3 separate regions of the Homo sapiens genome follow, and all the other regions are linked to region 3. The links are contacts of gene promoters, found by promoter capture Hi-C in blood cells and fetal thymus (Javierre and others, 2016). All regions are on one chromosome and are shown on one strand. Each heading gives the region's core, a stretch centred on a gene start or on the middle of the fragment in contact. The rest is flanking DNA. Distances are from core to core; before and after follow the strand shown.

What was found. The method cuts DNA at HindIII sites, captures the fragments that hold promoters and counts their contacts. A CHiCAGO score of 5 or more calls a contact.
Region 1: a contact is called between a fragment that was not itself captured here and the fragment with the promoter of GNB4 in region 3, in 1 of 17 cell types (monocytes). The highest score is 5.1, in monocytes.
Region 2: a fragment that was not itself captured here is called in contact with the fragment with the promoter of GNB4 in region 3 in 1 of 17 cell types (M2 macrophages); the score reaches 6.8 in M2 macrophages.

What each region holds. Positions count from the first base shown.
Region 1 is chr3:180,961,012-180,964,771 of GRCh38, reverse strand. It overlaps FXR1 (FMR1 autosomal homolog 1), which reads right to left. Exons shown (of 17, transcript NM_005087.4): 11 at 3,218-3,304; 12 at 1,832-1,889; 13 at 1,682-1,744. Among named protein-coding and RNA genes, the nearest start is that of DNAJC19, 27 kb to the left of the region's middle. The HindIII fragment of the contact is 4,850 bases long and covers 1-3,760 here.
Region 2 is chr3:180,982,746-180,986,443 of GRCh38, reverse strand. DNAJC19 (DnaJ heat shock protein family (Hsp40) member C19) reads left to right here. Exons shown (of 6, transcript NM_145261.4): 5 at 448-518; 6 at 1,734-2,735. The coding sequence ends at 1,804. It overlaps FXR1 (FMR1 autosomal homolog 1), which reads right to left. Exons shown (of 17, transcript NM_005087.4): 17 at 3,691-3,698. Among named protein-coding and RNA genes, the nearest start is that of DNAJC19, 5.1 kb to the left of the region's middle. The HindIII fragment of the contact is 1,140 bases long and covers 1,486-2,625 here.
Region 3 is chr3:179,449,504-179,453,691 of GRCh38, reverse strand. It overlaps GNB4 (G protein subunit beta 4), which reads left to right and starts at 2,222. Exons shown (of 10, transcript NM_021629.4): 1 at 2,222-2,346. It also overlaps the pseudogene RPL29P34. RefSeq lists silencers at 2,052-2,201, 2,242-2,651. The HindIII fragment of the contact is 16,902 bases long and covers 205-4,188 here.

The DNA of each region.
Region 1 (3,760 bases), core at 1,049-3,548, 1.5 Mb before region 3:
ACTTCAGAGATGTTATACTGGGAAATGTTTCTTATAGTTCCTATTAAACTGATAAAACTACAGTACTCATTATATATATATATATATATATATATATAAATCAACTACAAGTCCCTCTGATATAATGTATACATGAACGTCTACAACCAAATTCAAATGGTTTTTCTTGCTTTTCCAAGCCCACTCAGGTTCAGTAACTATTTCAAGAAATAAAATGTTATCAATTCCACTAAGATTCAGAGCTAAGAGTGCCATCTACTGAACAATTTGCACAGCTTTCTTGAATCCAGATGTTTCTCTACCTCTCACATAATTATCTACTCTCAACAAAAGCATTTTGCCAGAGTAAGCTCTCATCAATAAGCCGACTTCCCACAAAAGCTAATAAAATTATTCAATGAATTCATCATACGCATCATCCAATAAGCCAAGTCTGATTATCTATGCTAATAATGTATGGTTCAAAAATCAATGAGAATATATTTGATTTCTATGTGATTACTGGTTAACTGTCTTTTGCATTAAACATTTTCAGAAATATAATAATAGTCTGCAATTTTCATCCCTTTATATGCTGAACACTTCTTTATTAGAATTTTGCTGTTTAGGTTTCAATACTGCATTAAATAAAAACATATATAAGAAAATGAGAACATAAAGATATGATATTAAAGGGCAGGGACACAAACTTACAACTCTACAACAAATTGAAGATAGTTCAGGTTTAATATAACTTTGTCAGCATTAGATGATCCTTCAATTAAAGCATGAAATTTGCATTTATTTCTATTTTCCTTAAATGCCTTACATTTTGGAAAAGGTTTTATATTTCCTCAAAAGGGAGTAAGTATAGGAGTGAAGAAAAGAAAAGGAAAAGAGAAAATAAAGAGAAGGGGCGAAGGAAAAAAACAAATCAGGTCACTGCTAAGATCCAAGTCCAAATGTAGAAAAATGGAACAACTCCAAAGCTGAAGAAGAATAAGGGAGAATTTAGGATTAGAGAATTGTTGACTATCACCACTCCACTGTCCCCCTTCCTATCTGGGTTAGACCCAATCCTCACAGTGAAATACATTTTAGAAAATGTTCATTTATAAAGTGTTAAATTAGATTCTGGCTTTCAGAGTCTTCATTTTAGTGAAATGTTGTTAAATAAAATAATTCCAGATGTGAGATGTTAATATATTCAAATACGCCAAATGAGTAAGTAAAATATTTTTTAAAAGCTAGTAAAAAGACTTGCTATATGCAATCTTGGCAGTGATTCGCACACTTTTCATTTTTTACTTAAAGAGGGTAGACAAAAGATGATTCCTAGAAGTATCACCACCACCATTACTAGGTATTTACTGGGAAATGTATAAAACTGTACTAGTAAAGTATTTGAAAAACAAGTTACATATGTATTCTTTGTAAATATAATAAACATGACAATGAACTACCAACTTAAAAACATGCTTTGCTTCATTACATAACTGCTTGGAAATTTTATATATTTTACTGTCATTTTAATGTATACTATCACTACTATTAAGACGTGTACTAAACCTTCAGAACTACCTTCTACCCTCAAAGCCAAGACAGAGTAATGAACTAATTATAAGAAAATGTGTTAGAGCACCTAAACTATAACTACTATTATTACTATTACCAAAAAAAAAAAAAAAAAATTTTTTTTTACCATAACCGGAGGTGTAATTAGGTCCCCGACGACCTCTGCCTCTTCCGCTATAAGACCTAGAACCTTGTACAGAAGAGACGGTACTTTCATCAGTGGCATATCCTTTCTCTTTTTCAGGCCCTCTGGTGGAAGAAGGTCTGAAACCCATACCAATCTGTCGCAGCTGTTCATCAATCTGTAGGCGTTCCATTCTTAGCTGTTCTACTTCCTACAATCAAAACAAAAAAGAGTAAGTCTTCTTATATATAACTTTTTGTTTTCCTAAAGCCTAAAGCTAAAGCTGTACTCCCTATCAAAGCTGTGACCTTAGGCAATTAGATGGTAAAGAGCATTGTGTTCCTAGTCAACAGAATTGATGAGGTCATTTGCTGTTTCTGTTCAACATTTACTGAATGGTCTAGAGTGTGCCAAACATGCTACTATAGGCATACAATATAAAAGAAGACATGGACTCTCCCCAATCAAGGGGATGTTTAACAGACAGCTTTAAAATAAGTTATTTATTAAATAGCTAACAATTATACAATATTACCAGATTTTGCCCTCAAGGAGTTAGAATTGCTGAATGAGATACAGGTAGCATCTATGAAAGGTACTATTAACAAGCTACTTTCCTATCAAAGCAGTGACACGAGTTGTGACCTAGAAGGAGTGCTAGACTTTGTCATTCAGAAATTGAGGTCATTACAGGATGCAAAGGTTAGATGTCTAGAGAAAGCTCTTGGTTAAAAGATGAGTACTGAAAGATAAAGCACTGGCTTCAAAATGCCAGCTTTAATTGCGACTTTTCATATAAAGATGAATTTCAAAAGAAAAGAAATGACATTATCAGAGTGATCTCAAAATAGTAACAGCAACAATGATACGACAGACTGGGAGGAAAACATACTAGAGGCAGAGAACAGGTGAGGATATTATTATACTTTAAAAAGAAACACAGCAGGAATAAAAGGGAAAGAGTAGAAAATAAAATTAAAATGTTTAATAATTTATGGGTCATATTTTTCTAAAAACCCTTGCTCTTTATGTATCAACTCAAATAGACTATTTTGTTAACAATGGTTACAAATTATCGAGTAATGTCAGTGGAGATGATGCAGATGATTTGCATAATGCCAAAGTTACCAAGGAAGCCCAATGTCACTCCTGGTTCTGTACCCTATTTGTATGTAAAGTACAAAAGTAAAAACAAAATGGCTCCAGTATGAACATGCAGATACATAAGTGATCTGAGAGTCAAATTGCATGAAGACAAAGGAATCATTTCTTAAGAAAGAAAGAAATATAAAAGCTCAGAAAGAAGAGAAATTATGCACACAAGGCCAATCATTTTATGATGACAAAGGACTTTTTAAATTCTCATGTAGAACAATGGCAAATCTGAAGCTGAATTAACAAAAAATATTTAAAGATTTGAAGTTTACTTCAAATATAAAATGTTTAATGTGAGGACATTTTAAATTTGTAGCAAATGTACAACATTTATGTAGTAAATGCAGCAACAATATCAGAATATAGTATGAACCGTATACAAACCTTTAGATAGGCAATATGATACTCTAGAAGAACCTGCACATTTCCAATGCTTTCTTTAGTGCCAACAAATACAAATGGAACCATACCCTGTTTAAAAAAAAAAAAAAGTATTCAGTGTTTAATATTTTAACAAAGTTCTAGCCTAAAAGTGACATGAAACTGACAGGCAGGCACACACACACACACCTTTTTTTTTTTTTTTTTTTTTTTTTTTTGAGATGACGTCTTGCTCTGTTGCCCAGGCTACAGTGCAGTGTTACAATCACAGCTCACTGCAGCATCAAACTCCTGGGCTCAAGTGATTCTCCTGTCTCAGCCTCCAGAGTAGCTGGGACTATAGATGCGTGTCACCACAACCAGCTATTACTTTTTATTTTTTGTAGAGACAGGGTCTTGCTCTGTTGCCCAACTCCTTGCCTCAAGCAATCCTCCTGCCTTGGCTTCCCAAAGCGCTGGGATTATTGACTTCGTAAAGAGGTTACAGGCGTGAGCCACTGTACCCAGCCCCAATATATAATTAGGAAAACTCTTCTGAAACACGCA
Region 2 (3,698 bases), core at 806-3,305, 1.5 Mb before region 3:
CAGGCGTAATGGCACACACCTGTAATCCCAGCTACTCGGAAGGCTGAGGCAGGAGAATCGCTTGAACCCGGGAGGCCGAGGTTGCAGTGAACCAAGATCAAGCCACTGCACTCCAGCCTAGGGGACAGAGTGAGACTATCTCAAAAAAAAAAAAAAACAAAACTCTTCCTTCTTCATTTTCAAATCCTTAAACATGCGTTTCTTATCAATAAAAGGACTGTTGTAATGGGTACTGCAAGTTCAACACATTTTTGAGAGTGCCTTACTTTTCTAAGTAGTTTCCCAATTTAGGATACGCATTGGGTGTGTTGAGGTTTCTAAACAGCTTTTCATACTGTTGTGTTAATTTACTACAGTTTCACAGTGTCTTTAATTGGCCTTTATGTACAGTTTTTTGATGTGATGCAGAAGTAGGATGAAGTAAATACCATTTCTTTTTTTAATTAGCCCTACTGCCAATAAAGGGAAAATAAGAGATGCTCATCGACGAATTATGCTTTTAAATCATCCTGACAAAGGTAAGTAGTCATTAAATTCTCGTTGATGTTGTTGGTGTGACCAATAGTTATTAATGGGATAATTTTATCTCAAATTCCTGGCTATTAGAAAGGTAACACTTAAATCTGTAAGTCCTGTCTCCTAGGCTGGAGCCATATATTTTTGGTGTCTTAAAAGAAATTAAGTGAAAACTTTACTTACAGAATGAGCAGATGTAAGTGCTACTATTACTATGTTTTGTGGGTTTTTCTGGCCTACATTTATTATAATTAAAACGTTAAATTTCGTAAAACTAAAATGTAATTTTTCCTTATCCATTTTAGATACCTTGAAACGGAGATTACCTAGATAGAAACTTATGGGATTTATTTATTCGTTTGTGATAGACTTCTATGCAGCCTTGGCTGTGTTGAAGGAAAGCAAGAATTTCTTTGAATACCAAAAAATAGACCACAGAATTCATGTTCTAGTGTTTGTATCCTTTTACTTATACAGGAGAGGGCTTTCATTAATAAAAAGGGTTTTGACATTTTAAACAGGGTTATAATTGTTTGATATCTACTTCACAGTATCTTTTATGAAATTTAGCTTGTTTTATATGGAGGGCTTCTGACTCAGTAGGTCGGCAGTGGAGCCCCATAAATATGCATTTATACTAAATTTCCTGTTATTTCTTGCTGGTCTTAGGACCATACTTTGAGAATCACTCCTCCAGCAGATTCGTAGGAAAGCAGCTGTAGATGACATTGTGAAGGGACAGTAGATAACAGGAAAAGAAAAACTGGACAGAAAAAGGATGTAAAGCAAACTGGGATCTTTCCAGTAAACAGCTCAGAAGCCTCTGAGAATATCATGGTATTAAAATAACATGGTATAATTGATGTTCATTTATGACCTGTAATCATGAATAGGCTAACACCAGTTCAAAGGCATATACATATATATCTAATATATATGATAGAAATCCTATTTCTATCAGTTTAAGCTTTCTAAAAAGGTGTTATTTTTGTAGAAATATCTCCCACGTAAATTACTTCATTTCTCATTGGTCACATATATTACCATATATTTGGTCATCCAGTTGCAGTGTCAGGGTTATTTTTTAAAAATTAAAACACTGTTTCTGCTAAATCTCCCTCAGATAAGCATTGGAGTCCTTGAAACAAGAGTAGCTTTTTACCAAGCAGAAATTGAGAATCCATATTGTAACTGTTCTTTTTTCTTTCTTCCTATAGGAGGATCTCCTTATATAGCAGCCAAAATCAATGAAGCTAAAGATTTACTAGAAGGTCAAGCTAAAAAATGAAGTAAATGTATGATGAATTTTAAGTTCGTATTAGTTTATGTATATGAGTACTAAGTTTTTATAATAAAATGCCTCAGAGCTACAATTTTAAAAAATGATTTAGCACAAGCTAAATCTCAAAGCCTTGGTATAATTTTCTTGTTTAAATTTGGGGATTTTAAATCAGATTATAGTTTAGAATATTTGCGTATTAATTATGGGCAAGCACACACCTTCTGAATAGAAATATTGTTCATTACTCATTTAGCAGATAATTTGGGACCTATGTCTACTTTTCAAGGCAAAGTGAAGATGACAGTCCTTGCTCTCAGGGAGCCCCCACTTTAATGGGAGACTGATAAACTGGTAATTAGACTGTGATAAATAGTATGATGGAAATTAGCTTAAGCTGTTTAAGTAGGGACTCTTCTTATTCGGTGGAAAGGCTGTTCCAGGTACAGGCAACTGGCCTGGCAACTTGGATACTTGGAACCTTGTATTTAAAAGTGAATTTAACCACAACTGAGACCTAAGAAATTGACCTAGGGGTGTGTGTGTGTGTGTATTCTATGTACATATAAACCATTTTTATTTCATGCATTAAAAATAGTATGATAAAGATTTCAGAGTACAGGTCTGGTACAATCACAGTTCATTGCAGCCTCAACCTCCTGGGTTTAAGCAGTCCTCCCGCCTCAGCCTCCCAAAGTACTGGGATTACAGGCATGAGTATTTACATTGTATTCAGCTAGCCCCTTAAAGGTAATGACCATTTATAAATTATTCCTTCAGTTGGCTATTTCTTGACATAATCAAACTTCTGCAATTGTTATGATTAAGCTTAAACCCTGTTAGCAAAACTGAAAACTGAAATGTTCTCAATATCAACATATTTAATTTGGACTCTTTAGAATTTATACACTAATAAATTTAAATGATGTTTAAAGGCAAATTACTTACTGTTTGTCTAACATAAAATATATAAGGATCTTAAGAGGACCTGTATAAAACATCTGGTATAAACTAGTATGTATTTCTCAACAGGAGTATTTCTTATGTGTAGCTCTAAGATGATAAATTATACTACCTACCGTCTAAACTTCCTTAAGTCATCATAAGTTTCTTAATTATTGGAGGATACAAGGACTTTTGAGGTTAAAAAAATAGTGGAGGTAATATTTATCTGCCTTATAAAGTAAAGGTATATCTGCTCTTTGTGTTTTCTATCCAATACCCTCGTTTAAAATCTGATGGAGTCTGTTATGATTTAGTGTATGATGAAACACTAGCTTCTAAGGCTTTTATGCAGGATAAATTATTTCCAGGGACAAGGAGACATGAAAGTACAGCTGGTTCTTGTTTGTGGTAATTCTGTTCTTTAAGGTGGCTATGAACACTGAATTAGCAAATAAGGAACAAGTTCCTAAGAGAAATACAGATTCTGTGACCCTTTGGTCACAATATTGTCTGCCAGTCAGTATATAACCTTGATCGACCTGTTTCTGCTTGAAAACATTCTTTAGTATTTCATTAACTTTCAATTAACAGCCAACAGCACTATAACTAACTCATGCTTGGGACATCACGGCCTTCTTTGCATTTGGGAACACTAGGTAGCATGCTTCACTACTACTCTTAGGAACCATCTTAAAACAGCAAAATCACCAACAAAAAGCACAAACATGAAACTTGGCACTAAATAGACCACAAAAAGGATATCTGTTTATGGTGTGAGAGCTTAAACAAGGTAGAGCATTGCCTTGTGCACATAAAGTGGTTTAAATTTTTTGTCACTCTGCAAATACTCACAAATGACCAGAAAAGGATGTTGATTTTGGAGTTACAAATTTTAGTGAGTAGGCAAATTCACAGATAAGGAATTCTACTAATAATGAGGATCAACTGTATTTTGGTT
Region 3 (4,188 bases), core at 973-3,472:
CATTCTTTTAAACTCTTTAAAAGACAGTCAAATTCTTGTTACATCTTTTCAGGTTTTGTATTTTATGTTTAGGAGCTGTTCATTTATATTTCCCCTCATCTTTTCTGGAATAGACTATCTCATTGCTTCCCACTGTGTTTTCCTAAATACCAGCAACTTGTTTTTCAACAAATAATCTTAACCCAACAACCAGCTCTCAAAGCTTTATAACATCTGGTAAATGCTAGTGCACAGGAACAAGGCAGAAAAGAATCTAAAGAAAGAATATGGGGCCGGGATCGGTGGCTCACGCCTGTAATTCCAGCACTTTGGGAGGCCGAGGTGGGCGGATCACCTGAGGTCAGCAGATTGAGACCAGCCTGGTCAACACGGTGAAACCCCGTGTCTACTAAAAATACAAAAAATCAGCCGGGCGTGGTGGCTTGTGCCTGTAATCCCAGACTTGGGAGGCTGAGACACGAGAATCGCTTGAATCCTGGAGGTGGAGGTTGCAGTGAGCTGACATCACATCACTGCACAGTGACTCCGTCTCAAAACAAAAAAACAAACAAAAAAAAGAAAGAATGTGGGCTTTGGAGTTGATCCAATCTGATGTCATGCAGGGCTCTACCAATACCTTCGTGACTCCGATAAATTAATCTTACCAGGGCATCAGTTTGCTTATCTGTAAAATGGGGATAAAATTCACACTTCAAGGTAATTATGAGGATTAAGTACAGTATAAGAAAGCAGAGAGCATGGTCCGTAATAGGCACTCTTTAACAATTTCCCTTTGCTTCCTCCGAAAAACGACAATCATAAAACTCAGGATTTAATCATTAAAACATAAATAGTTACAGATGCAAAACACTCATGTCCCAACGAGCTCTTCTGACACTTTGATATGCAGAATATTTGGCATTTCTTTCTTCTTAATGGAAAAATGCTCCTAATATTAGTAAAAATGAAAATTTTGGGGGAAAAATTATCCACAGTTTCTTTATCTGTGGATAAAGAAAATAGAAACAGCTGCTTCTATTTTTGTCACGGCCTGGCTTTTATACAAAACGGTCACATTTTCCCCACAGTCACAAACAGGGTGTGTTTATCATGGCATCACCTCTTTCAAGGGACTAATAGATTTATTCCAGGTGATAGTGGGAAGCAGCTACAGAAGGAGGATTGGAAGGCTGAGGGGTTGTTAAAGTTATCTGATGATATTGTTCGAACATTTCTCCGGCACAGAAACTCCACAAAGAACTCCTCTGCAGTTTTCGCTACCCAGGGCTGTTTCTTTAAATTGTTTGACGTCAGAGAAGGAATGCTATAGCAACAGTCTGTCAAACTGGAATTAACTCAGAAGAAAAATGGGGGTGGGGAGAGGAAAAATGCTCCCAGGCGGTACTGACTTCAGAGGAAGCAAATTGGATAGATGCATTTATTTTATGACATTTTAAACATAAAACACCCAGATAAATGTGAAAAAAAAAAAAACTCGATTGAGATGCATGTGGTGTTTAACTCATGCAGAGAAGAGCGACTTGGCAGGGATATCTGGAAGGCCTTCCAGTTTTATCAATGACAATAGGAACAATAACTTCCAAGTATTGGCCATTTATTTGGAGGCAGGCTTCGTGCAAACATCACTTCATTTAATATGCTTAGCACCTTTATGAGGCAGGTATCAGTATCTTTATTTTGGCGATGACGAAACTTAGGCCCGAGACGGTACACGGTCCTACAACTAGTGATGGAAGAGCGGGGACTGCAACGCAAGGTTGTGCAACTCTGGGCTTCAGTTTACTTTCTGACATTTAGAATTCCAGAATGGGAAACCTAAATGGGGCCTTTGGGGTCTTCTAGCTCTGCCCTTCGATCCTGCTAACAAGCAAACTGGCGCCTGTCAGCGCCGGAAAGGAAACTGGCCACGCCACTTAGACGGGCGCTACTTAGCAGCGTGCCCCGGCGCCACACCAACAAGAAAACGAAACTGCCCGGGAATGAATGTTTTTCTTCTCCTTCTGGCAGGAAACGAGAGAGAAAATAGGAAGCAGAAGCTGCGCGCGGCGCCCGCTCCCTTCGCCCCCCGCCCGGGCTGCGCGCGCTCCGAGGGTCTGCGCGTCCCCGGCACGTCCCCGCCGGGCCCGCGCGCCTCGTGCCTCGCGCCTCGCGCCTCCAGCCACGTCCCCGCCCCGGCTCCGGCGCGCCGCGGAGTTGGCTGCTGGGAGGTGCGGGACTGGGTGTGGCCGGCGGCTCTGGTCTCGGCTGTGAGCTGCGCTCTCCACGCCGGCTCCGCGCTCCAGGGGCTGCTGAGCGCCCAGCGGACACCGGCAGCGCGCGGTCGACGCGGGCCTGAGCTCCCTCCAGGTAGGCGGCGAGCTCGCGAGCGGCGGCTCGTCGGTGCGCCCCGCGAAGCGATCCCGGGCTTCTCGCAGGGACGTGGGGCGCCGCGAGCCACCCCTGCGGAACGGGGCCCGGGTGACGGCGCGGGGCGGGGCGGGTCTCCCCGGGCTCGGGCGGCCGACGCTGCCCGGGAGGGACGAGGAGGGCGCGCCTGTGTCGCGCCCAGCTGCCACGCGGGAACTGGCCCCACGACCGCCGGCGCAGGCACTTCCCGGGCGGTCCAGACCGCTCGCCCCGGGGAGCGAGGAACGGTCGGCGGTCCAAGTCCTGCAGACCCCCCTGGTTTCTCGTCACTCCCCGAGGCCTCCTTCCAGGAACTCAGAGCACGAGCCCGTGCGTGCCCCCAAAATAACGGGTATTCGGGACTGCCCAGCAGGGCTGTTGGGTGGAGAGTGCTTGGAAGACTCATAAAAGTTCTACGCTGAGTCCAAAATTAGTCCAATGGTTTTGTTTCAGATTTATTTTGGAAATGATATAATGTCCAGAGTTTGGGGATGGGAGGGGATTGATGAATTTTGAATACTTGTGAGTTCAGTACAATAAAAAGTGTTTTGCTTTTCTCTCCACCTTTTTCTGCTTCAGAACACAGATGATTGCCATATACTTTGATATGTATTGCTATTCGCTAAGGGAACGTTGAATTTTCAAAAGTTTGAAACCAGGCTTTCATTTGTTTATACAAGCAATACTTTGTTATTTTTCGTCTCCTTGTGTTCCCTTTTCTCCCACTCCTTCCCTTTCTCTTTCCATAAAGGATAAGGATGCATCTTTCTCCCTCTCAGCCACCGACAAAGTAGCTTGGCGTGTGGCTTAGCGGGAAGTTTTCTTAAAACGTTCAAAATTTAATTGTTGATTAGAACTTTTATTATGAGTCCGTCTCAGTGTTGCAAACAGAGTTTATGACCATTAAGTACATCTTCTAGGACAGAGACAGAACACACGCTACTTAATTTAAGATGGGAGGGAAGTTATTTCTAGTCGGAGAGGAGGACGGCTGATTAGGTGCATTCAAAATTGTGTGCTTCGAGTCTCTGCCATTGTTCATTTTAATACTCTTCAGTTTGGGGCTTTTGGTTTACTACTGATCCTAGGCTCTGAAAATTTACTGTATATTTCAGTATGTGGCTTAAAGACATTTTAAGATTTTCCATGTTGCATTTTGGTTTGTAGATGAATTTGAAACTGAAATAGAAACTTTTAAAATATCATCTTATTGAACGTTGTCAACCCTCTGTATATACATTTATAAAACTGATTGATACAGCTTGTGATATTTTAGGTTGGTTCAACTCTTTGTGGGCCCATAAACATTATTTAGGAAGTTATTCCGAGTCTTTGGCCTTTGTTAACCTGTAGAATTGTTTCTTTTAAACAATTGGCATGTAAGTATGTCAGCACATACTTTTACACTTTAAAAATAGACTCTGGGGCAATTTGAAAATTAAGAATTGGAACTAAGTGTTGGACATTCTTCTGGCCTTACCAAATACTGCCTGAGATGGTGTGATTTCTCTTAGGCATGTTATTGAAGTCAGCTGGCTGTATCATCAGTTTCTTTACCTTGCTGACTATTTTAATCTGCGTCTGTTATGGACTTATTTATTAAAATATCTCTTCTGGGCTGGGGCAGTGCTGTAAGTTATTCTACTTATATCTCACAGTAACACCATTATCTACTTCCACAGGTAAGGAAATTGTCTGTGAGGTTTTAAGTAACTTGGCAGTGGTCATGTAGGTGTTAGGTAACTCAACTGGGATTCGAAGCAAGACCCCTCTGTTTCCAAAGTCCATGTTCTTTCCCCTGAG